Linked DNA regions of Homo sapiens: all the other regions are linked to region 6. The links are contacts of gene promoters, found by promoter capture Hi-C in blood cells and fetal thymus (Javierre and others, 2016). All regions are on one chromosome and are shown on one strand. Each heading gives the region's core, a stretch centred on a gene start or on the middle of the fragment in contact. The rest is flanking DNA. Distances are from core to core; before and after follow the strand shown.

The links. The method cuts DNA at HindIII sites, captures the fragments that hold promoters and counts their contacts. A CHiCAGO score of 5 or more calls a contact.
Region 1: a contact is called between a fragment that was not itself captured here and the fragment with the promoter of CELA1 in region 6, in 4 of 17 cell types (endothelial precursors, activated CD4 T cells, naive CD4 T cells and 1 more). The highest score is 8.6, in endothelial precursors.
Region 2: a contact is called between a fragment that was not itself captured here and the fragment with the promoter of CELA1 in region 6, in 3 of 17 cell types (megakaryocytes, endothelial precursors and naive B cells). The highest score is 5.9, in megakaryocytes.
Region 3: a fragment that was not itself captured here is called in contact with the fragment with the promoter of CELA1 in region 6 in 1 of 17 cell types (erythroblasts); the score reaches 5.7 in erythroblasts.
Region 4: a contact is called between the fragment with the promoter of TMT1A here and the fragment with the promoter of CELA1 in region 6, in 12 of 17 cell types (fetal thymus, endothelial precursors, M0 macrophages and 9 more). The highest score is 9.7, in fetal thymus.
Region 5: the fragment with the promoter of HIGD1C here is called in contact with the fragment with the promoter of CELA1 in region 6 in 6 of 17 cell types (total B cells, fetal thymus, erythroblasts and 3 more); the score reaches 8.2 in total B cells.
Region 7: a fragment that was not itself captured here is called in contact with the fragment with the promoter of CELA1 in region 6 in 1 of 17 cell types (endothelial precursors); the score reaches 5.2 in endothelial precursors.

Annotation. Positions count from the first base shown.
Region 1 is chr12:50,837,197-50,839,896 of GRCh38, reverse strand. No RefSeq gene overlaps it. Among named protein-coding and RNA genes, the nearest start is that of TMPRSS12, 4.4 kb to the left of the region's middle. The HindIII fragment of the contact is 2,750 bases long and covers 1-2,628 here.
Region 2 is chr12:51,022,296-51,024,995 of GRCh38, reverse strand. The region is part of intron 1 of SLC11A2 (solute carrier family 11 member 2); the gene reads left to right. Among named protein-coding and RNA genes, the nearest start is that of SLC11A2, 2.7 kb to the left of the region's middle. The HindIII fragment of the contact is 2,447 bases long and covers 185-2,631 here.
Region 3 is chr12:50,980,739-50,983,438 of GRCh38, reverse strand. It overlaps a transcript of SLC11A2 not described here. Among named protein-coding and RNA genes, the nearest start is that of HIGD1C, 30 kb to the right of the region's middle. RefSeq lists a silencer at 1,546-1,746. The HindIII fragment of the contact is 5,684 bases long and covers 1-2,700 here.
Region 4 is chr12:50,923,573-50,926,272 of GRCh38, reverse strand. It overlaps TMT1A (thiol methyltransferase 1A), which reads right to left and starts at 1,258. Exons shown (of 2, transcript NM_014033.4): 1 at 737-1,258. The coding sequence starts at 1,234. RefSeq lists enhancers at 378-921, 1,935-2,144. The HindIII fragment of the contact is 3,129 bases long and covers 171-2,700 here.
Region 5 is chr12:50,951,279-50,953,978 of GRCh38, reverse strand. It overlaps HIGD1C (HIG1 hypoxia inducible domain family member 1C), which reads right to left and starts at 1,435. Exons shown (of 5, transcript NM_001109619.4): 1 at 1,264-1,435; 2 at 720-774. It also overlaps a transcript of SLC11A2 not described here. RefSeq lists an enhancer at 853-1,353. The HindIII fragment of the contact is 11,450 bases long and covers 1-2,700 here.
Region 6 is chr12:51,345,313-51,348,012 of GRCh38, reverse strand. It overlaps CELA1 (chymotrypsin like elastase 1), which reads left to right and starts at 1,334. Exons shown (of 8, transcript NM_001971.6): 1 at 1,334-1,390; 2 at 2,136-2,218. The coding sequence starts at 1,375. The HindIII fragment of the contact is 4,543 bases long and covers 1-2,700 here.
Region 7 is chr12:50,859,493-50,862,192 of GRCh38, reverse strand. The region is part of intron 3 of TMPRSS12 (transmembrane serine protease 12); the gene reads right to left. Among named protein-coding and RNA genes, the nearest start is that of TMPRSS12, 18 kb to the right of the region's middle. The HindIII fragment of the contact is 1,515 bases long and covers 500-2,014 here.

The DNA of each region.
Region 1 (2,700 bases), core at 4-2,503, 510 kb after region 6:
TTTGATTACACAGAATTTAATAACAGTACAAACATCCATGTATACACCACCCCATTCACTACATTTGTTTTACTGAATATTTAATACATATAAAAGGATATTTATAAAATATATGCTCAGTTTAAAGAATAACAGTAGAAGAATACCCATTTAAGAAAAAGAAGATTATTTTTGCTTTTGAAATCCCCTGTGTATCTCTCCCTCATTCTGTCTTTATTTTTCTCTCAGAAGTAACCAATATTCTGGATTTTGTATTTATTTCATTTATTCTCGTTATAAACCTTGCCGTACAGTATGGTAGCCCCTCACCACATGTGACAATTTAAGTTCAAATTTAAATTAAATAAAAATTCAGTTCCTCAGTCACATTAGCCATATTTTAAGTGCTCAGTAGCCACATGACACTTGTTACCATACTGGGCAGCATAGTTGTAGAATATTTCCACCGTTGTGAAGAGTTCTATTATACAGCACTGCTTTAAACAATATATTTTTTAGTTTTGCATGTTTTTGAACTTTATTACTCAGGGTTCTCCAGAGAAACAGAACCAACAGGAGAGTGAGGAAAAAAAAAGAGAAAGAGAGATTTTAGGGATTGGCTCACATAATTACGGAGGCTGAGAAATCCCACAGTCTGCCATCTGCAAGCTGGAGAAACAGGAAAAGCTGGCAGTGTGATTCAGTCTGAGTCTGAAGGCCTGAGACCCAGGAGTGTTGATGTCTGAGGACAAGAGAAGATGTCCCAGCTCAAGAGAAATAATTTGTTCTTCTTTCACCTTTTTGTTCTGCTGGGGACATCAACAGATTAGATGATGCCCACCTACAGTGGCGAGAACAATCTTCTTTGCTCATTCTCCTGATTCCAATGCACATCTCTTACGGAAACACCCTCACAGATACTCCCAGAAGTTGTGATTACCAGCCATCTGGATATCCCTTAGCCCCATTAGGTTGACACATAAGATTAATCATTACATGAGCTTTATATAAATGGAATCATATGATAAATTTTCTTTTGCAGCTAGTTTTTGTTTTTTTACTCAGCATTAGGTTCTTTACATTCATTTCTGTGGTTATCTAACTGCAATTCATTTACTCTCTCCCACACATCATATGCATATGCCACAATGTATTTATCTACTTTGGAATCTATTATTGATGGATATTTGCATTATTTCCAGGTTTTTTCTATTACAACTAATACTACTATGCATATGAGATGAGTCTCTCTGGACTACATACTAGTGGTAGGATTACTGAGTCATAAAGAATACCATCATCTTCTCCAAATAATGCCAAATTGTTTTCCAGAATGTTTCACCAATATTCTCTTCAAGCCAGGCATGGTGGCTCACACCTGTAATCCCAGCACTTTGGGAGGCTGAGGTGGGAGGATTGCATGAAGCCAGGAGTTCAAGACCAGCCTGGGCAACATAGCAAGACCTCATCTCTACAAAAAATTTAAAAAATTAGCTGGGCATGGTGACACATGCCTGTAATCACAGCCGCTTGGGAAACTGAGGTGGGAGGATCACTTGAGCCTAGGAGGAGCTCAAGGCTGCAGTGAACCATGATCATGCCACTGTACTCCAGCCTAGGTGATAGAGTGAGACCCTGTCCCTAAAAATAATAATTATTATATATATACAGATATATACACACACCCATATATACGTATACACACATATATATACACATATACATACTCATCAACTAGCAACATATAAATGTTCCCATTGCTCATGTCTTCACCGATGCTTTTTCTTTGTGTGTGTGTGTGACGGAGTCTCACTCTGTCACCCAGGCTGGAGTGCAGTGGTGCAATCTCGGCTCACTGCAGCCTTCATCTCCCAGGTTCAAGTGATTCTCCTGCCTCAGCCTCCCGAGTAGGTGGGATCACAGCCGCCCACCACCACACCTGGCTAATTTTTGTGTTTTTAATAGAGATGGGGTTTCACCATGTTGGCCAGGCTGGTCTTGAACTCCTGACCTCAAATGATCCACCCGCCTCGGCCTCCCAAAGTGCTGGGATTACAGATATGAGCCACCACGCCTGGCCTTTAGGCATTGTTTTTCTTTTCTTTCGCTTTTTCTATAGGTTCTGCCAGGTTGTAACAAATGCTTTTTAATTTTTTACCTATCTTGTGGGCAGGAGTTGGGAATTGTGGTTTTAGTTTGCGTTTTTCTGATTTTGAATGAGTTTGAGTATTTGAATATCTTTTCATATTTTAGGGAACATTCATTGACTATTTCATGTTGAGTACCAATTTATGTCATTTATTTGCTCATCTTTGTCTTTGCATGTTGATTTCATTGACTGCCTTCTCCATGCCAGACCCTGTTGTAAGAGCTTAGGCTATAACAGAACACAAAACAAAAGTCCTTGCCATCATGAGATTCACATATTGAATCATAAGAGATTTTTATAGGTCCGGATAATAATCCTGTTCCTGTTCCATGGTGAGCAGGTCTATGCAAACCTACCCCCAAAGGCTTGAGGGAGCCAATAGGACAAGGAAAGAGGCTGACAAATCCAGTTTCTCAGAAATATTTAATAGGGACTTAGAAGTAATGTCTCTGGTAGCTGAGAGAGGGCACCCAACCTCCAGAAAGTATAGATAGCAAGCTTTTAGGGTTAAGATGTGCAGCTGGTCACATCTGACTTTCTTATGGAACTTGTGACAACTGGGTAGGTTAGAT
Region 2 (2,700 bases), core at 159-2,658, 320 kb after region 6:
TTTTTCATTGGACAGTATTTCATTGACAGTCTTGCTTGGCCTACTCAGTTTATTTTGGAGCCAGTACTAAAAAGGCCATGATTGCAGCATACTTGGTTTCTCATGTTTCCGGAATGGCAGTGGGACTCGGGAGGGGAATTTCTGGGTAGCCTGGCAGCACTTCTTGTTAAGGAATGGGGAAGCTTCTTATGAATCTAATCTTACTCTAATGTTAGGAAATCAGCAGTGGTCCCTTGGATTACTCTACAAAGCTAGTAGGCAGCTTTGGTTCAGTTATGACTCAGTGAAGGTTAGAGAATTATATCTACAAAGTAGGATCTTTTTCTTTCTTTCTTTCGTTTTTTGATACGGAGTTTCGCTCTTGTTGCCCAGGCTGGAATGTAATAGCGCGATCTCGGCTCACTGCAACCTCTGCCTCCCGGGTTCAAGCGATTCTCCTGCCTCAGCCTCTTGATGCCTGGCGAATTTTTTTTGTATTTTTAGTAGTGACGGGGTTTCACCATGTTGGCCAGGCTGGTCTGGAACTCCTGACCTCAAGTGATCCACCTGTATCGGCCTTCCGAAGTGCTGGGGTGGTGTGAGCCACCGCGCCCTGCCAGATCTTTCTTGTTTGACTTTCATTGCTAAGAATTTGGGTGAGTGTTGTTGAATCAAAGACATCTTTATTCTCTGCCTCCTCACCATGCACATACGTACAAATGTCTGCTGACAGATATCTGCCCTTCCTATGGCCTTAAAAAGCCTTCTCATATTCTCGTGGTGCTATCTGGGATACACCAGTGGAAGACTGCTTTGTCTTCTAATTCTTCCCTTCAAAGAAGCGGCTATTTATACACATAGCATTATTAGGAACTAGTCAGAAAATGAGAAACTTTAAGTTTATGAAAAAAAACATTGCTTACTTCAGCTGCATGCTGGCCAAATTTAGTTGAAGTGCAGTTGGTATAAGTTTAGTTGTTTAGTTTTGGAATAAGAGAGTTCAAGACTTCCCCTCCCACCCCCCACAAGACAAGGTCTGGCTCTGTAACCCAGGTTGGAGTGCAGTGGCATGATCACAGCTCACTGCAGGGTTGACCTCCCAGGCTCAAGTGATTCTCCTGCCACAGCCTCCCTAGTAGCTGGGAGTACAAGTGCATGCCACCACCCCTAATTTTTAAAAATTTTTTTGTGGAGATGGAGTCTTACTAGGTTGCCCAGGTTGTCTTGAGCCCCTGGGTGCCAGCCACCGTGCCCAACCAGTTTAATACTTCTTTAGGATTTAAAGTTGGAAGTTGGCCTGGTAAGAGTGAAGGACAATGTCTTTGTAATCTGTTTTTCCCTGAGAGGCATGGGAATGACACCTTTAAAGAACTGAGTGTGTTTGAGGCAGAAAGGGAAGTCTGCTGCCCTAATATTGTCATTATTATCATCTCTCTGAGGCTCTGTAGTTTGAGTAAAACATTCTGGGAAAAAAGGTAGGGGCATTTGAATGAGCGGAATATAATGAATTAGAAGATGCAGACCATGTCTCACTTACTTGCTGCCATTTATTCTTTATTTTTATATTTTTGAGACAGGGTCTCGCTCTCTTGCCCAGGCTGGAGTGCAGTGGTTCAGTCTTGGTTCACTGCAACCTCCACATTCCAGGCTTAAGCGATCCTCCCACTAGAGCCTCCTGAGTTGCTGGGACTACAGGCTTGCGCCACCATGCTCAGCTAATTTTTAATTTTTTTGTAGAGTTGAGTTCTCACTATATTGCCCAGGCTGGTCTTGAACTCCTAGGTTCAAGCAATCTTCCTGCCTTGGCCTCCCAAAGTGCTGGGATTACAGGCATGAGCCACTGCGCCCAGCCTTGCCATTTATTCTTTTTATAATTTAACAAATATTTATGGAGCAATTTACATTAATTGGCCCCTTGAGACACAAAGAAGAGCCTTCAAGGCATCATCAGGAATATTCTAGATACAATAAAATGACATGTATATAATAAGGTATATTTTAATGAAATCATAATGGAATATAAAACAATTGGCCAGCAATGATCAAAATGGCCTAACTTCTCTTCCACTTTTAATTTCAGGTTAAAGTAATTTATATTTTTTGGCATAAGGAACAAATTAGGGTTTTTAGTCTTGTTTTGGTGCTTATTGCCGATAAGTCATTTTGTGTCAGGTTTGTGTTTGTTTTGGTCTCATCTCTACTAAGCTGATAGCTGTTAAAACTCCTAGGAAATGAAAGAAGAAAGCTACAAGTTAATTATTAAAACTTTACCAGGTTTCAAAGAGCAGAAAGAGGCTTGTTAAAGGCTGGAGAATCTTGTAGTATATATTGTCTTAATTTTTCTTTGCTTTTAGGAAAAGAAACTTGGAGGACAATATTTACTTAAAGTTGTTAAGGTCAATCTACATCATTTGGGAGCCAATATCCATCATTAGGAAAAATGGGTTGAATGTAATCTAATGAAAATTCTTCATATTTGCCAGAGAAAAGCTACTTAAGTGTGAGGACAAAACATATTTTCTGAGGCAAGAAGTAGGTATAGGCTGGTTTAATAGGGGATTTTTTTTTTTTTTTTTTTGGAAAAAAGTAATTTTTTTTTTTTTTTAATGGAGACTGGGTTTCTTGCTATGTTGCCCAGGCTGGTCTCAAGCTTTTGGGCTCACGCAATCCTCCCGCCTCAGCCTCCCAAAGTGCTAAGGGATTACAGATGTGAGCCACCAT
Region 3 (2,700 bases), core at 157-2,656, 360 kb after region 6:
ACCCAACTCCAGTGCCTTTATATTACACTAAAATAGGGATAGTTGCTACCAATAAATTTATAGTCTGCATTCTGCATTAACTTAGAGGCTGTTGGTGCCAAAGGATAACAATAAAAGCTCTGCGTAATAATAATAGGGCTAAAATGAGACTCAAACTTGTCTCAAGGTGTATTCGAGAAGAGAAAAAGTAAAAAGAAATAACTTCATAGCCAGCCTAGGAAACATGGCAAAACCCTGTCTACAAAAAAATTAGCTGAGTGTGGTGGCACACGCCTATAGTCCTAGCTACTTGGGAGGCTGAGATGGGAGGATGGCTGAAGCCCAGGAGGTAGAGGTGGCAGTGAGCCAAGATTGTGTCATTGGCACTCCAGCGTGAGTGACATAGTGAGGCCTTGTCTCTACAAAAAAAATAACAACTTCACAGGTCCCAACACAAACCATCTAGACTCAGTTCTTTAGGAGTGGAGTCTGGAATTGTGGGTTTTTTTTTTTTTTTTTTTGACGGAGTCTCGCTGTGTTGCCCAGGCCGGAGTGCAGTGGCATGATCTCAGCTCACTGCAGCCTCTGCCTCCTGGATTCAAGTGTTTCTCCTGCCTCAGCCTCGTGAGTAGCTGGGATTACAGGCATGCGCCACCATGCCCCGCTAATTTTTGTATTTTTAGTCGAGGGGTTTCGCCATGTTGGTCAGGCTGGTCTTGAACTTCTGACCTGAGGTGATCCATGCGCCTCGGCCTCCCACAGTGCTGGGATTACAGGCATGAGACACCGTGCCCAGTCGGAATTGTTTTTTGTTTGTTTGCTGTTTTGTTTTTTGAGACGGAGTCTGACTCTGTCGCCAGGCTGGAGTGCAGTGGTGCAATCTCGGCTCACTGCAATCTCTGCCTCCTGGGTTCAAGTGATTCTCCTGCCTCAGCCTCCCGATTAGCTGGGATTACAGGTGTGTGCCACCACACCCAGCTAATTTTTTTTGTATTTTTAGTAGAGACGGAGTTTCATCATGTTGGCCAGGATGGTCTCGATCTCCTGACCTCATGATCCGCCCACCTTGGCCTCCCAAAGTGCTGGGTTTACAGGCGTGAGCCACCGCACCCAGCTGGGAATTGTGTTTTAAAAGCAGCTTCGGTGATTCTGATGCAGGCTGACAAACATTTGGGACCCACAGGTCATCTTTCTCCCTCTTGGTACATGCCATTTCATGTTTTTGTTTTTTAAATGAAAGGCTTTTCTCTGCTCCAGTGCCAAAGGATAATAGGGCTCAGGATTGAAACCATTGGGAATTTGATTTCTAATTCACACAGTAGTAAAATACAAAAGCATTCTGCTTGTTTGTTCTTATCCTGATTTGAAGCACCCATCCTTAGGCAGAGTGTGTCACAAGAATAGTCAGAGTGCTAATTTTGCTAAGGACATTTGGTACCATCTCAGTCCTTAACTATTTCAGCTCCTACCTGTTATTTTGCATATCAGAAGCCATTCATGTATGTATCTGTAAGCCATTTCTTTTCTGAAATAAAAATCAATATAGCAGTACAGAAAAAAAGGCCTAAATTGATGTGCTAATTATAGGTACTTAAAAGCTGATTTCAATAAATACGTGAAAATCAGTCTAACCCTCTTCCATCTTTTTTTCCTTAGTGCCATCTGGGATTGACAGCTCAGCCTGAACTCTATCTTCTGAACACCATGGACGCTGACTCACTTGTGTCTAGATGACTGACAGCCTGAGAGACTCTATAAGAACATGTTTTTCTAAGCCCTTTTTGTGCCAGGTGTCCCGTTAACGTCTCTGTTAGTTCAGAGGTGAGTTTTGTTCAGACGTTTTGAACAAAAGGCAAAGATTTCCTCATGGGAAGGGTGTTCAAAACTGACAGCTATAAATGTAGGTCAGAGACCCACCCACCTCATAACAGTCATACACTCCCAGAGTTAAACGATTGGCCTCTGATGGCCACACACCCCTATGGGCTTGTGTCTTGGACTCTGGGATTTAAAAGATATATATGTATATATATTTATGTAAACCTGAGCATCTCAGTTTGGGTAGAGTTTTAAGGTTATATGAAACTGATAGAACTTTTGTATTTTTTTTTTAAATATTGTTTTGATATATCAGATATTTGTTTTGTCTGGATCACAAGTGAGAAAGAAAAGAGAACAATGCTCTTTTTCACAATGAACTGGTCAAATTGACTATCTTGTAAAGTGATACTTTACTATGTCAGTGAAATTTCAGTTTGATTTTAGTCAACCAGATTATATCCTTTGTATCTACTGATATTAACACATCATATTAACACATCATTTCTTAAAAAAACATTTCTTCTGTTTGGCAATCATAATTAACTCTGGTTATCAGCCTATTTTGTAATTATTGTCTTTGTCGTCACTTTTCTTGAATTGTTTTCTAGTCATTAAACAGATATGAAGGCATTGCCAAAGAGCTTTAATATCCAGTAACAAGATCCAGAAACCACACTTTAACCAGTGATCAGTTTTCCGTGCTGCATTGTAACTCAGCTCATTCTGGCATTCAAGTTTTAGGCAAAAAAAGAGGAAACTTCTAACATTTAGCTTGTAAGTCCTGACATAAGATAGTGAAGATATTTATCTTCTTTCTAATATTTGTATAGTCCGCCAATGTATTTTCTTCCCACTATTCCCATTAACATACCAAACACTGTTTCTAGGTCCAAAGTCTAT
Region 4 (2,700 bases), core at 9-2,508, 420 kb after region 6:
TTGAGCACTTTTGTCCTATAATTGGTTTACATTTCTGTTCCTGTTATTTGCCCATTTTCCCTTTTGTTTTTCTTATTGAAAAATATTGATCTTATTGACATGTAATGTCTTTTAACATGAGGGAAGTTAACCCTTTGTCTATCATCCCTGGCAAATATTTTTTCCAAGCTTGTTTTGTAGTTTAACTTTGTTTTGGGGAGTTTTTTTTTCTTATTCTTTTTTTTCTTTCTTTCTTTTTTTTTTTTTTTTTTTTTTTGAGATGGAGTTTCACTCTGTTGCCTAGGCTGGAGTGCTGTGGTGCAATCTTGGCTCACTTTAACCTCTGCCCCACCAGGTTCAAGCGATTCTCCTGCCTACAGGCACCTGCCACCATGCCTGGCTAATTTTTGTATTTTTAATAGAGATGGGGTTTCACCATATTGGTCAGTCTGGTCTCGAACTCCTGACCTCAAGCGATCTGCCTGCCTTGGCCTCCCAAAATGCTGGGATTACAGACGTGAACCACTGTGCCCGGCCAGGAGGTTTTTTCTTTATAGCAGTTTTAAGTTTTTATATTCAGATTTATCAATCTTTCTCTTTATAGCTTCTCTCCCACGCTAAAATTTTAAAAAATTCTACAGTATTTTCTAGTAGTTTACTTTTTATGTTAAAATGTTTCAGCCACCTGAAATTGACAGGCCTGCCCTCTATGATAATAGCTGCTACTAACTAGTCCTCCTCACACCCTTTCACTCACCGGTCTCAGCACTCTGCACACCTCGCGGAGAATCCGCTCCTGGTTCTTCACAGAGCACAGCACCAGGGTGCAGACCACCACATCCACAGAGCCATCAGCCACCTGGTGCATGTTCTCCCCGGCAGCTACCACAAAGCGCTCAAACTGCAGGTGTCGGTTCTCTGCAATGCTCTTGATCAAAAACTTCTCAAAGTTGGGGTTGGGGTCAATACAGGTCACCCTGCACCCAGGTGGGTAGAACTTGAAGTTGGCCCCCGTGCCACAGCCCACTTCCAGCAGGGAGAGTTTCCCGGAGGGGCCCGCAAACTCCTGCAGGTTACTGAAGAGCTCCCGCTTCTTGCTTGCCATCTGTTCGTTGTATATCACAGTGAACCTCACCAAGAAGTAGGGGAACCATTTTTTGCATATCCAGCTCCACAAGCCCAGAAAGTTCAGCAGGTACAAGGGAAATGTCAGGATGTAAATGGCCAGTCTCAGGATAAAGATGGTAAGCTCCATTGCTCAGAAGGGAAAAAAACAGATCAACAGTTAGAGACCCGACTCCTTTAATTGCAGGAGAGAGGCTTCTGGCCACACTCCAGAGCCAATCAGCTGCAGAGGAGAAAAAGAACTGGCTGTGCTGGAAAGTCAAATCATGGGCAAGAGGCCAATTTTGCCTAATAGATGTTTGGCAGCAGTCGATTCAGCTTAGTTTTCATAAGGCAAAATGAGAAGGTTCCCAGCTTTTCCTCAGAAGGAAAGTGGATTATAATCCTTTATTCCTAATCGATTCCTGTTTCCCCTTCTCTGGGTTTGGAGACAGCTGCTAGCTTCCTGCTAGAGTTTTATAAGCGCAGTGTACTTACACCCCACCGGGCTCTCCAGTGACCTCTAAAAGAAAACAGAATTCGTGGGTGGAGCCTGGTCAAACCACACCAGAAGAGTGCTGCCAAGGCCCCTTTATCATAACACATCCCCCTTACTTCCCCCGCCCAAACCCTGTTTTTTTTTTTTTTTTTTTTTTTTTTAAAAAAAAAAAAAGGAAGTGAAAGGACATGCATGCCCGGCCACAGTCAGCAAGAATTCTCTCTTTTACATTCTGGGCAGAGGCTCTCAGTGTTCACAACTCAACGTTTTTGTAAACCAAAAATAATGTTCTAAGGCCTCTAACCATCTGAATGGACTTTCTCCTTGGCCAGGGCGCTTTTAAAATTTAACTTGAGAGATTGTTTCAGGCCATGAGGGGAAGTGGGGGTCAGATATGCCTCATTATACCTCAAGCCGGCATTCACATCAACGCAGACCTTAAGTACATTTACAATCTATTCTCTCTGAAGCCTGCTACTTGGAGGCTTCATCTGCATAATAAAACTTCAGTCTCCACAACTCTTATTGCAACCCAGACATTTCCTTTCTATTGATCCCAGGTCTTTAGATAAACTCAACCAATTGTCAACCAGAAAAATTTAAAACGTACCTATAACCTGGAAGCTCCCTGCCTCGCGTCGGGTTGTCCTGCCTTTCTGGACTGAACCAATGTATTTCTTAAATGTATTTGATTGAAGCCTCATGTCTCCCTAAAATGTAGAAAACCAAGCTGTACCCTGACCACCTTGGGCACATGTTCTCAGGATTTCCCGAGGGCTGTGTCACAGGACATGGTCACTCATATTTGGCTCAGAATAAATCTCTTTAAATATTTTACAGAATTTGACTCTTTTTGTTGATATTTTAAAATCACTGTTTTGGGCTGTACTTCCCCTTTTAAAACAATTTTTGGCTCAAGGAAGTCAGTTTGTGGGCTGCCCTTCTTTTAAAGGACAAGCCTCAGTCTTCAAAATGTGCCTAACTACTCGATTACTCAGCTAATTTGGATAAAAATATTTCCCAGAATATTCACATTTGGGAGCCAAAGGGATTCAGAAAATAGTTTCAAGCATCCATCCGCTTTTTACAAGAAAGCCCGAATCTGGGCACAGTGGTGG
Region 5 (2,700 bases), core at 186-2,685, 390 kb after region 6:
GGATATAAATGTGGTTGCCGTGAATCATTAAAAATAATTTGTTTTTCCTCTCCCATCATACTCTTGATTATGTGTTTTTTTGTTTTCATTTGTTTGATAAGCCTATCTGCTCAACTGAAACAATTGTCTTTCCTTCACACTTTTCACTACCGAATTTTTTCATTTTGCAGGGGAAGGGGATAAGAAAAAAATACATAGAGGAAATGATAATCAGATTTCATGAATACAGAGTAAAAACACAGATCATAATGCTGTTATTCAGTCTCCTTTCCACTGCTCAGCATTTGAGATCACTGGGAACCTCAGGACTTCTTCCACAAGCACTGTATTTGAAGAACACATTTTCTTTTTAAAGTATCATTTTAAAGAAGTATGGCAGTGCCAACATAGGCAAAAATACTTCCAGATTTACAGGTATTGGGAGAATGATCACTTCAACTCTGCAGAATGTGCAGGGCATTATAAAGTCATTCAGATATTTACCAAGCACCTACTGTGTGCCAGTTGCTATGCTAGACAATGGATTCCTTGTCTAGCCTGGCTTGTCTACATAGGATGAATGAAGAAACTTGCAAAAGCAACTATAATCACAACAGATTTAGCAGCGCCTGAGTCTGTTCCCTGTGCAGCTTATTGTGTTCACCCCAGAATTCAAATACAGCGGCTTCATCCTATGAATGAGACTTCATCAGAAAACTTAAGCGTAAGAAGCACAATACCTGTGGCACACCCCGCCACCTGCTGTCTGTCTCCTGTTGTTCCTTCAGCAAGAGGCTGTAGATCAGAACAGGTGTTTGTTGTAAGGCCAGGACACGATGTGCAATTTCCAACTAATTGATAATGGGAAAGCCCAGAAACACGCCCCAGGGGACTGGGGGAGTGGTCGGCTGGTATTGGCCAAGATTTCCAGCACCCTGCTAGAAACTCACCAGTAGCAGCCTGGGCCACAAACTAGGCTTTTGAAGCCAACATTAAGAAAAACATGAAGGCTTTGGAAGAAGATGCATTTGCTTAAGTCTGCCTTCACAAGGGAGCTCCTGACTTCCCTCTGTGACTGTTGAGTCTTAGTACCTGACTCCTGGGCCCAAAATTGAGGGGAAAGAGGGCACAGGGTCACAACACTGGGCTTGGAGGGGAAGGGGAGAAGATAGCCATCAGAGGCCAGGATTCTTGCCATCCTTCGGAAACACGCCCTAGCCAGAGGAGGTGCGCTCCCTGCAGTTGGAATCTCCGGCTGAGGCGATGAGAGCCCGCCGGGCTCACCTGGCGGTAAGGCCATCGCAGGTGCGCCTCCTGCAAAGCCTCGAGCTGCACACGCGCCCAGGGGAAAGACGTGACGTTGCTGCACCTGTGGCTAGTCCCTGCGCCTGTGTGTGAGACCTGAGTGGGGCTGTGGAGACCCGAGAGGCTGTGGCTCTTGAGGTGGGTCGGTGGTGGACGTGGCCTTTGCTTCTGTTCTGACCTTGTAGCCTTGGGGCCCCTTGAGACCTTGGAGAACACCTTGCTCACCGCCTCCCTCCGACTGCAGCCATGTGGACCTAGAGATGAGGGCAGAGGATCAGGTAGCGTTCATGGTTTTTCCCTTGTAACTTAATGTTTAAATAATTTCAGACTTATAGAAAAGTCCCCAGAATAGTACAAAGAACTGTGTGTCTGGTACCCGCATTTTCCTTTATTAACATGTTTCTTTCTTTAAAAAATATTTTTGGCGAACCACCTGACAGTAGCAGACTTATGCCTTTTCTTCCATATACTTTTGTATGCATTTGGGGCATTCTTTTATTATATAACCATAGTACAGTGTTCAAAATCAGAAACTTAACATTGATATAATTCTGTTTTTCAATCTAAAGATTTTATTCATATTCACCAGTTGTCCCAATTATGTCCTTAATAGCAAAAAAAAAAAAAAAAAAAAATTTCTGGTCTAGCATCCAATTAGGATCATATATTGCATTTAGTTGTCCTGTTTCTTTAGTCTCCTTTAGTCTGAAACACCTTCCTAATCATCTTTGTCTGTCTTGACCTTGATTTTTTTTTCTTTTTTTTTTTTTTTGAGATGGAGTTTCGCTCTTGTCACCCTGGCTGGAGTGTGATGGCGCAATCTTGGCTCACTGCAACCTCTGTCTCCTTGGTTCAAGCAATTCTCCTGCCTCAGCCTCCCGAGTAGCTAGGACTATAGAAGCGCCACACCACGCCCGGCTAATTTTTTTGTATTTTTAGTAGAGATTTTGTTTCACAATGTTGGTCGGGCTGGTCTCAAACCCCTGATCTCAGGTGATCCACCCACCTTGGCCTCCCAAAAGTGCTGAAATTACAGGTGTGAGCCACCGCGCCCAGCCGACCTTGATGTTTTGCCAGTTATTTTGTAGGATGCCTCTCAATCTAATCCTGTGTTCCCGTCCCCTCCCCCAACTCATGTTTTCTCACTAGATTGAGGTCATACATTTTGGGCAGAATATGACAAAAATGATGTTGTGCTCTTCTTAGTGTGAAATATCAGGAGACACAGAAAGTTGAATTGCCTGGTGGTAGTTAACTTTGATCCAGTGTGGTGCTGACAAATGTTTAACAACTCAACTGGCTCTGGAGGGGGAGATATTGCCCTGTTCTGTGGCATTTGCCATTGCCCCATTCTGTGTTGTAAATATTCCCACCATGCCCAATTTCTAAATAGAGTCTGTCATCACGGAACACAAA
Region 6 (2,700 bases), core at 85-2,584:
TATTTATTTATTTATTTTGAGACAGAGTCTTGCTCTGTCTCCAGGCTGGAGTGCAGCAACCTCCGCTTCCCAGGTTGAAGCGATTCTCCTGCCTCAGCCTCCAGATTAGCTGGGACTGCAGAAGCGCACCACCATGCCCAGCTAATTTTTGTATTTTGTTTTTGTTTTTTTTTAGATGGAGTCTCGCTCTGTCGCCCAGGTTGGAGTGCAGTGGCGCGATCTCGGCTCACTGCAAGCTCCGCCTCCCGGGCTCACGCCATTCTCCTGCCTGCGCCTCCCGAGGAGCTGGGACTACAGGCGCCTGCCACCACGCCCAGCTAATTTTTTGTATTTTTTTAGTAGAGACGGGGTTTCACTGTGTTAGCCAGAGTAGTCTCAATCTCCTGACCTCGTGATCCGCCCGCCTCCGACTCCCAAAGTGCTGGGATTACAGGCATGAGCCACCGCGCCCGGCCAATTTTTGTATTTTTAGTAGACGGGGTTTCGCCATGTTGGCCAGGATGGTCTCGATCTCTTGATCTTGTGATCCGCCCGCCTCAGCCTCCCAAAGTGCTGGGATTACAGGCGTAAACCACCGCGCCCGGCCGCAACTCCCTTCTCTCTCCTCTACGAACTGTGATGAACAAAGCCTTTCATCTCCTGCAGGAACCTCGGCTCCTACCCTCGTTCTCCCTCTGCCCTCCACCCTCCATCTACCCTCATAGCCCTCAGACTGTCTTCACATCCCAAGGATCCCCTCCTCTACCCTGCCTCATATTCTCCTCTGGGAGCCCCTTCTTGGCTCTCCATCTGAGAGGGCCCAAGCCTGTTTCTCAGTACTTTCCTCCCCCAGAATTATCTCCACTGCATCTATTTGGCTTTTGTGTCTGCATTTACACCTATGCCTGCATCCTGGGGGCATGTGCCATCTCCCTCTTTGGGCAGAGAGAGTTGCTGTGTCTTCCTTGCCCTTGCTAACCACTCCCCCCTCTTCCACTATCCCCCTGGCCTCCAGCTGCTAGTGCACAGGGCAAGTCTCTGCATTTATGGTGCCACTGAGGACAACGAGAGAGTGATGGATGACAAGGGGTGCTCCCTTAGAGAAAAACCAGCCCTGGTTCTCCATCTTATTTCTGAAAAAGAGTTTGTTGGATGCTTTTCAATTAAAAGCAGATGATTAATTCAGCCCTGGCCTTGTTCTGTCTTTGAATAACAGATACATTAGTTTACTTGAAAAGAAATATTTTCATTTGTATTTCCATGTCACTTGTGATTTTCCCTGCCTTGCACCCTCAGCCCTGCCAGTTGGCAAGAAGACAGTCAGCTTTGCTGCTAAGAGGAGTATAAAGAGGGCTTGGTCCAAGCAAGAAGGCAGTGGTCTACTCCATCGGCAACATGCTGGTCCTTTATGGTAAGTGGATATGGTCCAGTCGCAACCCTGGTCCTTTATGGTAAGTGGATCATGTGGCCTGAGGTCTATAGGGAGGGGGACTTGGGCAGGAAGGTCAGCAAATTTTCCCTAAGTCCAGGCCAGCACCCTGTCCCAGGGCAGGTGGGACGCTCTGCCTGCAGAGCGTCCTTTACTCTCCTGGAGGCCAAGATAGAAAAGGTCAGGGCCACTGGCTATTCAGGCCCCTCTGGGTGGCAGGTCCCTGGGCCACAAAGCAGAGAGAAGCCCCATCTGGTAGTGGGGTGGGTCCCTGGGCTTCCCCACCACCCCCATTGACAGGAGGACTTCCTCAGCAGGTGCCTGGCTGGGGTGTGCACTGCAGGCCCTGAACCCTGGAGAATCTTGCCAAAGCATTAGGGGGCTGGTGGGGGTCAAAGAGTGGGGGGGGGTCTCTTCAGGCCAAAGGGTGATCTTGAGCAAAGAGGAGACCACAAGGAGCCTCTGGGGCCTAGCCTGGTGGTTTGAGAGAGGTCCTTCATAGCATGCCGGAGTTCTGGGAACACCTGGGGGAAACAGAAGGCACCCAGGCACCCCTGTTTTCAAAAGGGGCTCAGAGAACTCACAGCTGGGCCCCTCATTCGTTAGAGAGGAACTGTGAATTTGCAGACAAGGCTAACATTCCTCAAAGCACAATCGCCACCCCCCACCCCTACCCCTGGCTGACCCCATGCTTAGTCATCACTCACTTTTCTTCTGCCCCACAAAGGACACAGCACCCAGGACCTTCCGGAAACCAATGCCCGCGTAGTCGGAGGGACTGAGGCCGGGAGGAATTCCTGGCCCTCTCAGGTGGGTGTTCCTTCCCAGCCCCAGACTTCCACCCAAATAAGAGCTCAGTGCATGACATAAGGTATCATGTGTATTTGTGCATGTCCCTATCAACAAGCAGCTCTCCAATTGTCTAGGTTCTCGATTTTAAAGATGGATGGGATCAGGCTTAGGTGGTTTTCTAAATGCAAAAGGCTTGGAGGAGGGGATTTATACACCAACCACAGTCCCTCTTCAAGGCACACACCCAAACACAAGATACATTTATATTCTCAGCGACAGCACTTGTGCCACGCAAGAAAGACTGGGTGCCAGACAGTCACCTTGGACTCCACATACCTTGAAACTCACACGCACACCACTCCACACTGTGTGTGTCACAATGCTTGCACGCATGTGCGCGCACACACACACACACACACGTACAGCATGCTGCTTAGTTGGCTATTTAGAGTTTCCACTTTGCTAACAGGGCAGCTGGGCCCTGATTTAAGTGATCTAAA
Region 7 (2,700 bases), core at 8-2,507, 490 kb after region 6:
TCTCAAAACAACTCTCTGATGGGTATCATTGCTCTCACTTTAAAGATCATGAAACTGTATGACATTGTGAAAGATGATATATTAGGCCGGGTGCACCTGGCTCACGCCTGTAATCCCAGCACTTTGGGAGGCCGAGGCAGGTGGATCACGAGGTCAGGAGATCAAGACCATCCTGGCCAACATGGTGAAACCCCGTCTCTACTAAAATACAAAAAATTAGCCGAGTGTGGTGGCACGTGCCCGTAGTCCCAGCTACTGGGGAGGCTGAGGCAGAGGAATCACTTGAACCCAAGAGGCAAAGGTTGCAATGAGCCGAGATTGCGCCACTGCACTCCAGCCTGGAGACAGAGCAAGACTCCCTCTCAAAAAAAAAAAAAAGATATATTAATAATACAGTGGAAATACATGAGATTTGCAACAGGCAGAACTGGGCTTGAATTCTGACTTCATCGTTTAGTTATTTTATTAGTTTAAGCAACTTATTTAACCTCTTTAAGCTTTATTTTACTCATTCATTTTATAGTATTTTCTGTAGTGTTGCTGGGGGTATTAAATGAGATAATGCATTGCAATGCTTAGCATTTTATTAAGTACTGGGCCCTAAACAAACGGTAGTTGCTTCTATTATTGTTCTAATTATTATTAAAGAGTCAATAACATGCCCATGGTCATTCAGCTAGCACAGAGCAGCAGGCTGGGATTCAGAATTAAGTCCGTGAATCTAAAGCCCATGTTCCTTTCCCTACACCATGTTGCTTTCCTTATCTTCTTTAAAAAGTATTCACAGATGGAAAAAAAAAAAAGAAAAATAATAATTCACAGGTCTTTCGTACATTTATCTACATCCTAGCTAAATAATCCACAAATATTTAAATGGCTAGGGCCTGTGGGGAATAGGAAGAAAAAAGAAGTCTTAGTACTTAACCTCATATATTCCTAACAGGACAATGATTCCCTCAAGAGCAGTTTAATATAGTTATTAAATATTCAGGCTTTAGAATAAAAGACTTGGGACTTGGATTTGAGTTCCAACTTCTTAACCTCTAAGATTCTCAATTACTGGTCTGTTAAATGGGGTAAAAATAACATTAACTCCCTTTTAGGAATATTGGGGGCATAAGATAAAGCAGTATATTTAAAACAGGACCCAGGACAGGCATGGTGCTCATGCCTATAAACCCAGCTACTCAGGAGACCGAAGCGGCTAGATTGCTTGAGGCCAGGAGTTTGAGACCAGCCTGAGCAACACAGCAAGACCATCTCTTAAAAACAAACAAACAAAAGCTGGGCACAATGGCTCATACCTGTAATCTCAGCACTTTGGGAGGCTGAAGCAGGAGGATTTCTTAAGACTAGGAGTTCAAGACCAGTCTAGGAAACATGGCAAGACCCTGTCTCTACAAAAAAATGAAAAAATTAGCTGGGCATGGTGGCACATGCCTGTAGTCCTAGCTACTTGGGAGGCTGAGGCAGGAGGATTACTTGAGACCAGGAGGTAAAGGTTACAGTGAGCCATGATCGTGTCCCTGCACTCCAGCTTGAGTGACACAGCAAGACCATGTCTCTTAAAAAACCAAAACATACATCTATACATACATAATACGTTTTAAAAAGCTGGGCGTGGTGGCACATGCCTGTAGTCCCAGCTATTGGAGAGGCTGAAGCAGGAGAATTGCTTGAGCCCAGGAGTTTGAGGCTGCAGTGAGCTATAATTATACCACTGCACTCCAGCCTGAGAGACAGAGTGAGACCCCCATCTCTAAAAAAAAAGTGTTTTAAATAACAACAAGAACAGAAACAGGGCCTGAAACATGGTAAATGCTCCCAAATGGTGGTAGCTCTTATTACCAAAGAGACTGTGTCGTCTATGTTTTTATTCCTCCCATTAGTTGGGTCAGTTAACATTTACTGCCCCTAAGTACACTAAAAAAATATATCGCAATCATCTTGCCTGATACTAAACAAGGCATTAAATTAAAAGGAAACTAAATATGATTCTTCATAGCCAGAAGCTTATTACTTAAAATAGAGAACTCTGCTGCAGAGCTGGCTTCACCATCTGTGAGTTCAAACTACAGAAACACTTGGAACTATCATTCTATCTTAACGTTCAAGTATCTTGGCATGTACAATCAGAGAAAGTCTCTATTTCTGCTTTGGAAAAGAATTTTCTCTCCTATCCCACAAGGAAAAATAGACCCCTCAAAAAGTTGTTTTCAGTGTTTTATAAGAACCTATAATACTTTTCAATCTCATGGCATAAAGTGATAAAAAAATACACAGAGTGAAACACAGTCAGGCATCACTTAATGATGGAGAACATTCTGAGAAATACATCGTTAGGCAATTTTGTTGTGCAACCATGATAAGAGTGCACTTACATAAACCTAGATGGTATAGTCTGCTGCACACCTAGGGTAGATGGTATAGCCTGTTACTTCTAGGCTACACACCTGTTCCGCTGTACTAAGTATTGTAGACAGCTGTGATACAGTAGAAAGCATTTGTATATCTAAACACAGAAAAGGTACAGTAGGCCAGGCTTAGTGGCTCATGCCTGTAATCTCAACACTTTGGGAGGCTGAGGCGGGTGGATCACAGGAGGCCAGGAGTTCGAGACCAGCCTGGTCAACATGGTGAAACCCTGTCTTTACTACAAATACAAAAATTAGCTGAATGCCAGGTGCGGTGGCTCATGCC